Linked DNA regions of Homo sapiens: all the other regions are linked to region 3. The links are contacts of gene promoters, found by promoter capture Hi-C in human tissues and cell types (Jung and others, 2019). All regions are on one chromosome and are shown on one strand. The core of a region is centred on a gene start or on the middle of the fragment in contact, and the rest is flanking DNA. Distances in the headings are between cores, read along the strand shown. Region 1 overlaps NALCN (sodium leak channel, non-selective). Region 2 overlaps NALCN (sodium leak channel, non-selective). Region 3 holds the start of NALCN (sodium leak channel, non-selective).

The links. Contacts are between HindIII fragments. The study calls those that stand out against the background at their distance.
Region 1: a fragment that was not itself captured here is called in contact with the fragment with the promoter of NALCN in region 3 in 2 of the 25 tissues and cell types used here (H1 embryonic stem cells and dorsolateral prefrontal cortex).
Region 2: a contact is called between a fragment that was not itself captured here and the fragment with the promoter of NALCN in region 3, in 2 of the 25 tissues and cell types used here (mesenchymal stem cells and small bowel).

What each region holds. Positions count from the first base shown.
Region 1 is chr13:101,234,686-101,237,385 of GRCh38, forward strand. The region is part of intron 12 of NALCN (sodium leak channel, non-selective); the gene reads right to left. Among named protein-coding and RNA genes, the nearest start is that of NALCN, 180 kb to the right of the region's middle. The HindIII fragment of the contact is 6,808 bases long and covers 1-2,700 here.
Region 2 is chr13:101,159,126-101,161,954 of GRCh38, forward strand. All of the region lies in intron 15 of NALCN (sodium leak channel, non-selective), which reads right to left. Among named protein-coding and RNA genes, the nearest start is that of LINC00411, 220 kb to the left of the region's middle. The HindIII fragment of the contact is 6,967 bases long and covers 1-2,829 here.
Region 3 is chr13:101,415,048-101,417,862 of GRCh38, forward strand. It overlaps NALCN (sodium leak channel, non-selective), which reads right to left and starts at 1,461. Exons shown (of 44, transcript NM_052867.4): 1 at 1,266-1,461. RefSeq lists enhancers at 262-812, 813-1,363. The HindIII fragment of the contact is 15,657 bases long and covers 1-2,815 here.

The DNA of each region.
Region 1 (2,700 bases), core at 43-2,542, 180 kb before region 3:
TGGCCATGTATAGAGAGATACAAATGAAAATCACCTAATCATTAACATAAATTAAACAGAACCAATTACAGAATAATCCAAAATCAAAGACAAAACTGAAATTGCAAACTTCACTGTGATTTGACTATCTATCTACTATCTATCTATCTACTATCTATCTATCTATCATCTACCTATCTATCTATCTATCATCTGTCTATCTATAAAATGGTTACAGCCTTGCAGGCTAATATTAGATATTTTGTAAAAAAACAGACTAGTAGGAAAATCAGACATGATGACAAGAGTAGGAAACTAGAGATGATTAATAATTTGTAATAAATTGGTTTCTTTCTAGTCATTTTTTTCCATTTTATAGGTATTTTACATATGTATATAATAAATATATACATACATATATGTAGTTATGTATATAATATAATTTATGCTGTTTATCGTTTAAATAAAACAGTCATATTTCTAAGTTATAAAAAACTCATCACAATTATAATTTTATGGTTAAATTCGCGTTATGACTTATTAAGCTATTCCTCAAATGTTTGTCATTTAAACAGTTTTCTTTTTTCTCTCATTAATTCTATAATAAATATTTTGCACACAAATGTTATTTTCTAACTTTTTACTGAAAAATGGCATGTCAGAGACTATAGCAATTTTAAGGCCCTGAATATATTTTATACTGTACCTTTGCTGAAATAGGCAACACCAATTTTCTTAATTTGGCTACTTTAATAGCTTTGTAAAAAAGGTATGCTGTTGTTTTGATATAAAGGATATTCTCTATAATTATGTGCAATGATGCCCTAAGGTAGGTACTCAATGGCCATGATAACTTTGTGAATCTAGAGAGCAGTGCACAAGAGCTTATAATCACAGGAATGTTTGGAAAGCACATTTTGTATCAAGAGTTTTAAACATGTATATCTCTTGCCCCAGCCATGTCACTTATGATAGCTAAGCTTCAGGATATAACTCAACAAATGAGGAGAGATTTACATCCACGGATGCTGAGGGAAGTGAGCGCTTGAACTATGAAAACCCTCTGTGGTTTCAATATGCTTAGCTGTGATTACAAGGGCTCAGCTTTTTGCCTGGGTTTGTAGGGGGTTTTGCTTTTTACTTTTTGTGAATTATATTTGCATGTCCTTTCCCCCAGGTACTAAAAGTGTCTAGTTACCTGTGATCTGGCAGTTAAAGTGAATATTGTTCTGAAAATAATATTTTGGTATTACTAATAAATAAAATCAATAAAGTTGCAATGCATGTTCTTTTTCCTAAGGGGTTAGAGTCCTGTTTCTCAAAATTACTTCTTTAAAATTCTACTGTCATTTTATTTCCCAAATATTTAACAATATCTATTTAGAAAACAATCAATGCACATTCTAGTGTTTCCATGATAAATTATATAAATGCGAAGGACATGAACAGACACTTCTCAAAAGAAGACATTTATGCAGCCAAAAAACACATGGAAAAATGCTCACCATCACTGGCCATCAGAGAAACGCAAATGAAAACCACAATGAGATACCATCTCACACCAGTTAGAATGGCAATCATTAAAAAGTCAGGAAACAACAGGTGCTGGAGAGGATGTGGAGAAATAGGAACACTTTTACACTGTTGGTGGGACTGTAAACTAGTTCAACTCTTGTGGAAGTCAGTGTGGCGATTCCTCAGGGATCTAGAACTAGAAATACCATTTGACCCAGCCATCCCATTACTGGGTATATACCCAAAGGACTATAAATCATGCTGCTATAAAGACACATGCACACGTATGTTTATTGCGGCACTCTTCACAATAGGAAAGACTTGGAACCAACCCAAATGTCCAACAATGATAGACTGGATTAAGAAAATGTGGCGCATATACACCATGGAATACTATGCAGCCATAAAAAATGATGAGTTCATGTCCTTTGTAGGGGACGTGGATGAAATTGGAAATCATCATTCTCAGTAAACTATCGCAAGAACAAAAAACCAAACACCGCATATTCTCACTCATAGGTGGGAATTGAACAATGAGAACACATGGACACAGGAAGGGGAACATCACACTCTGGGGCCTGTTGTGGGGTGGGGGGAGGGGGCAGGGATAGCTTTAGGAGATATACCTAATGCTAGATGACGAGTTAGTGGGTGCAGCACACCAGCATGGCACATGTATACATATGTAACTAACCTGCACATTGTGCACATGTACCCTAAAACTTAAAGTATAATAATAATAAAATAAAATAAAATAAAAAATAAAATAATATAAAATAAAATAAAATAAAATAAAAAATAAATGACCAAGTTTGAATCAGGAAAATGACTACATTTGAGGTGTTTTTGACTAGAATACCATGTAGACATATTTTATCATTTTGACTAAGTATTTACCAGGACAGTGAGCGTGTTGCTATATTCAATAATAACAAAGAATGTAACTAATAATTACTGTTTATTGCATAATTAGAAAGCAATGTGATCCAATATATCACATTTAAAAAAAGATATCCAATTATTACAAGTTAAATAAGAATTATAAGTGCCATCATGAAGTAACAGGCATTTATAAATAATACTGTATGAGTAATTACAATCTGTAAAGGTAAGTTTTATAAACCTTTAATATTTTCATTATAAACCGTTGTTGAGCAAACACTTAGCCTTATCGACAAGGAAGAGAAACACTTGGGATTAAATTAA
Region 2 (2,829 bases), core at 319-2,818, 260 kb before region 3:
AGTTTGATGGCATATTAAGTAAATGGCAAGGAATGAATATCATCACTTTCCTGACTTTTATTCTTTCATTTGATCCATGTACAAATACAAAGCAATGCTGTCAATGACAGCATTTATTAATACAACCAAGATTTCTGCTAAGAGAAAATTGTATGTATTGACAAAATCTGACTATTCTCAGAGGAGATTACTTATCTAGGGCCCTGTGACCCCAGCTCTAGTGCCAGAGCTTGCAGCACAGGTCAGGTACATGGTAGACCCAGCTCTTCATCATGGCTTGCAGTCGCCCCCTCCGGGTGGTTACTAACATGTTGCCTATGCTGGGGATTGCGGTTTGTGTAGGTGGCCAGGGGTCGGAGCAGAAATTCGCAGTAATGAACAGAGAACATATTAGAACTACGTATATTAGAAAACCATGCAGCATGAACACCCCAAAATCAGAAGAGACACTGGACATAAACAACAGATCTGTCATAATGAAGTATACAGCTACAGGTGTCCCAGTAATGACAGCTCTCGACTCTTTCCCGGATGAGAATTTTAGATCTAGAAGAGATCTTGTCAGGGTCTAGTGCAGGGGCCCAGATTTAAATGCCTATGAGACCAGGGAGATGATATAAGTGCCAGCTTGGATGACATAAAACAATCATATAAGACAATATATAGGAGTTAGGACTCGTGTCATCAAAGAAAAGAGGGCACACCGGATCTAAAGATACCCAAGTTAGATTTGGTAAAACTGAAAGAGAGGGAAGACATTTCTCCAAAATCACATCTCTTTGTTAGTGAGAGAGAAGGTTTTTTTTGTTTTTTGTTATTTTTTGTTATTTTTATTTTATTTTATTTTGAGACGGAGTCTCATTCTGTCGCCCAGGCTGAAGTGCAGCGGTGCGATCTCGGCTCACTGCAACCTCTGCCTCCTGGGTTCAAGCGATTCTACTGCCTCAGCCTCCTGAGTAGCTGGGACTACAGGTACACACCACCATGCCTGACTAATTTTTTGTATTTTTAGTAGAGACAGGGTTTCACCATGTTAGCCAGGATGGTCTCGATCTCCTGACCTTGTGATCTGCCCGCCTTGGCCTCCCAAAGGAGAGAGAAGTTTTCATTGTTTCCTCCTGTGGACCACTCAGTGGAAGGAAAATGTTTGCAAGGTCCCTTCTAAATTTCCTTCCCTCTTCCTTCTTTTTCGCTTTGTCTGTGTCTCTTGCCTTTTATCTGCGCTTATCATAAAGCAGAGAGGTAAAGTGAGAACAGGAGCCATATGAAGGTGTAACTGACCAAGCGTGGGGAGGAGGGGCAGGCTAGGAAATGGGAACCAATACTCCCTCAGGACCCTACAATGGCACTCACATCTGCTTCCTCCTGAATGAGTGGTTGGGGAGGAGCTGGATTATCTCAGCTCCTCTTTTCTGTTACCTTTGCCTAGACTGTTAAATTACAGTGGCATGCAATAGATAAACATATTAAATCTCTCTGTAATATGCAGGTGAGTTCTCCAAATGTCTGCCTGTTCTGTTTTTTGTTTTGTTTTGTTTTTGTTTTTTTTTATGAAGGTGTTTCTTCCTTATAAATTGCCTTATGGTACAAAGTAACTCATCACCCTTGTCAAAGCTGGTTGAGCCAGAAACCGGGCCAAAGACAGGGACTTTCTATAAGACTGGCCAGCATTGCGAGGCAATCAGAGATGAAATTCCTGCCTAAAAGGAATCATATTGATTAGCTGGATCGACCAAATCTGTTCTTATTGATCAAGTTTTGAACCTGAGATACAGAAAATGTTGACTATTTGCAATGGAACTGAAAGTGAAAATACACAAGGAGGAAAACAGAGACAGGTTGAGTTACCATAAAGGCAAACACCAGCAGTTATTAAATGTTGCTCTTCCTCAAGGCTCCAGCATATTTTTTCTTCCCACCCTATACAATCTCATCCAGATTTACACCTTCCAGTATTATGAAAACATGGAGAACTTTACTAGGACTGAAGCTCAAAGGAGGCAGTCATTTTTGTCTGTTCTGTTCATTGACCTACGCCACATGTCTAGAACAGCACCTGAATAAATAATTGAGAATTACATTGAATGTCCACATTTATATCTCTAGGCAGCCATCCTTCTCCCCTGAACTCCAGACCTATACACAACTATTAGGCATCTCTGTTCAGACATCTTGAAAGATTCACCAACTCAACATGCCCAAGGCTGAGTTGATGAACGTTTCCCCCAAATACGGTTGTATGCTAGTGTTTCTTAACTCAGTTAATGACATTTCATTCATGCAACTGTAGAAACCTGAAACCAGGAATCATCTTTGAGACTCTCTCACTCATGTCTTTAAATCCAACCTATCACCAAGTCCCTCTTGATTTTATTTTCCAAACAGCTCTCTGGTTCACCACTGCCTCCCATCTTATAAGCTTTCAGTGGCTCAGGTTAAAGGTAAACATTAAAGGTAAATGTTCTGGCTGGTATGGTGGCTCATGCCTGTAATCCCAGCACTTTGGGAGGCCAAGGCAGGCGGATCACCTGAGGTCAGGAGTTCAAGACCAGCCTGGCCAACATGGTGAAACCCCGTCTCTTCTAAAAATATAAAAATTAGCCAGGAGTGGTGGCGCACGCCTGTAATCCCAGCTACTCGGGAGGCTGAGGCAGGAGAATCGCTTGAACCTTGGAGGTAGAGGTTGCAGTGAGCCAAGACTGTACCACTGCACTCCAGCCTGGGTGACAGAGTGAGACTGTCTCAAAACAAACAAACAAACAAAAAACAAATGGTAAATGACCTTACCGTGTTTCTCAAGGCACTGCATGGTTCATGCCCTGCTGACTT
Region 3 (2,815 bases), core at 211-2,710:
GAAGCCATGATTTTTATTTAGAACTGTGGAAACCTTATCTTTGAATTTAAAAAGCCAGTCCTGAGATGCATCTGCCTCAGGGGTAACTACCATAGTGAAACCGCTCCTCTCCCAGGCCATATCAAATCACAGTTGTAGTTATGAACATACAAATCACACACATATATATATATATATACATACATATATATTTCAAAATCGCCACCTGTTAATTTTTGATCCCCTATTAGAGGTGTTATCCACCAACTACTAACACGAAGGTCACTGGTCCTCAACCCACATTTCACCACCAGGGCAGTCGGGCCTAGCTGATGACCACACGAACACCAGATTAAGAGTAAAACCTTCTGAGGCCTGAAAGTGAGCGTGTATTCACACATCCTTAATAATACAGTGTCTGAAAAATTGTACCTGAAACTGAAAGATTTATTCTAAGGTATTTCAAGCACTAAGGGTCTGAGTTCAGCATTCTCACACCATCCTGAAAGAGGAACATTAAGTCAGCAAAATGACTGCGATCTGGGCCCCCAGAGGGATCCCAGCCAGGCCATCCTTGCTGGTGTCTTAAAGATTCAGTGACAAAATGGTGTTGCTTGGCAGGACACTGTTTTGCGTTCGGTGTAGCCACCCTAATGACGGCTGCTTAACAAGGCCAATGAATATCATAAGGGACATTTAGCAAGGAGCAATCCACAGGAGCATGGGGGTGGGGCAAGGCCGCGGAGCCCCCGCGGAGACCTGCTGGAGCCAGGCTGCCCACCCCCACCTCCCCACCCGCGCGTTGGCCCAGAGGTTTACCCAGGCAGCGGCCCTGGTGCCGAGGGGGCAGGTGCAGCGCTGTAGTGATGCCCAGTGGCCTCGTCCTCAGCCACCTGCCCCCCAACACCTGCTAGATGCCCAGGCGGGGCAGGCCCGAGGTGTCGCCGGCCCTGGGCTTCCCAAGCCAGCCCAGGGGCATCCCGCGGCAGGCGCCCCCGACACCCACGCGCAGGAATAGGGAGGGCGCATCGCGGCTCCCGCGCCCCGGCCAGGCCGGCAAGGACCCCACCGCCCCGCTCTCGGGTGGAGGCGCCCCTCCCCACCCCTCCCCCGCGCGGGGCCCCCGCCCGCAGCCCCTCTAGCAGCCCCTCTCGCAGCCCCAGCGCCCCTGAGCCGTCCTGGCCCGGACCGGCCAAGGAACTAACGAGCGCGCATCGCGGGCCTCGGGCGCAGGGCACGGAGCCGGCCGCGCCGCAGCCTCCCGGGCACCGGCGGCGGTGACCAACCTGTAACCCCAGCGCTCAGAGCTGTCATGGTGCCCGCGGGCGGCGGCGGCGGCGACAGTGGGCGACCGGCAGGATCAGTGCCAGGCGCGGCGCCCAGGGCGGGCGGGGACGCGGGCCCCTCACCTACGGCGGCTCAGCTCAGGCAGCGCGCTCGGCCCGGCTGGGGCCGCGGCTCACGCTCGCCGTGTCACTCACTGAGCGCCGCCGCCGCCGGGCAGGCTGGGGGAGGGGTGGGAGCCGGAGTTTTCGGGCCTTTAAAAAATTATTATTTTATTTAAATTTTTAAAGTTAGCTTTGCTACAGGGACTGCAGTGATGCCGAAGGGCGGGCACCGCAGAGGAGGCTGCGCCGCAGTTGGTGGGGAGCGCCAGGGTCGGTACTGGCAGTTCCTTCTTGCCGGCTGCCACCCGCAGTCAGTCTCACAGCAACAGCTAGGCTCTCATCTGCGAGCTCCTCTCGGGGGTCTTTCGTACTCAACAGCACGGCGGCGGTGTGCACGGGAGTCCGCCGGGCACACGCGGGGTACACTTAAGTGCACTGCCAGGAGGCCGGGAGCCCAGCGTGCGAGCGTGAGGTCAGACTGTGCACGGTACCGAGGACTAGTTCCATTCCTGAGTATGAAAGGGTGAAACCGTTCACCTCAAGTTTCACCCCGGAGTTATTAAATAATGAATGCATCAGTCACACTTATAGTTTTCTAAATAGGTTGACGTTCGCCTTTAAAATTAAAATATGTTGTCGTGTGGATGAGACAAAGTCTATTCAGAAATTGACAGTCCCCCACCCCATACCCTGTGAGTATACCTGGACAGCAGACTGCATCTGAGGCTTCCTAGGGCTCCCAGCAGAGCAGGTTTAGGGAAATCTGGCCTCCTAAGCACCATGCCCAGGGCGACATCCTCCCACTCATTCCCACTCTCTGAAAGGTTTACTTTGGGTCTGGAATCTTGCCATGTAGTCAGATACGAAAATCCCCAGGGAACTCCTGACCAGTGATTTAGACATCATGCACACAGGCATATAAATAAAGGGAAAGAAACAACTGAATGAAGCTTTCTCTACAAGAGAAATTCTAAACAAAGAGCATTTGTCTATCACAAAATGTTATGTGGCAAGGTATAGAAGTAAAACTACACAAACCTACATTTTAAAAATGTATTTTCTGGTTACAGATATTTAATTAATCTACTTTCTTAAAAAGTCCATTCACAATTTGTTCACATTCATAATCCATATTAGTACGTTTTATTGTTTACAGGGAAATGTTAAAATATTGGTATTTCATGAAATACAGAGTCATGCGAGATAATTTTTCAAATTTCTAAAGACTTCAGAAAAACTGTGTCAAAAGCCAGGTTTTAAACAAATGATGAAATCACTCCTCATAAGAAAAAATTGACAGTAATTTAAACAATGCTAAATCTACAACCAGTTTGCTTAGAAAAAGTATTTACCAACTTGTTTCATCATCTTTATTTGCGGCTTTCAATTGCTTGTTCTAAATACTAGTTTATTTCACAAACTGAAATATATAGCTATATATATATGGT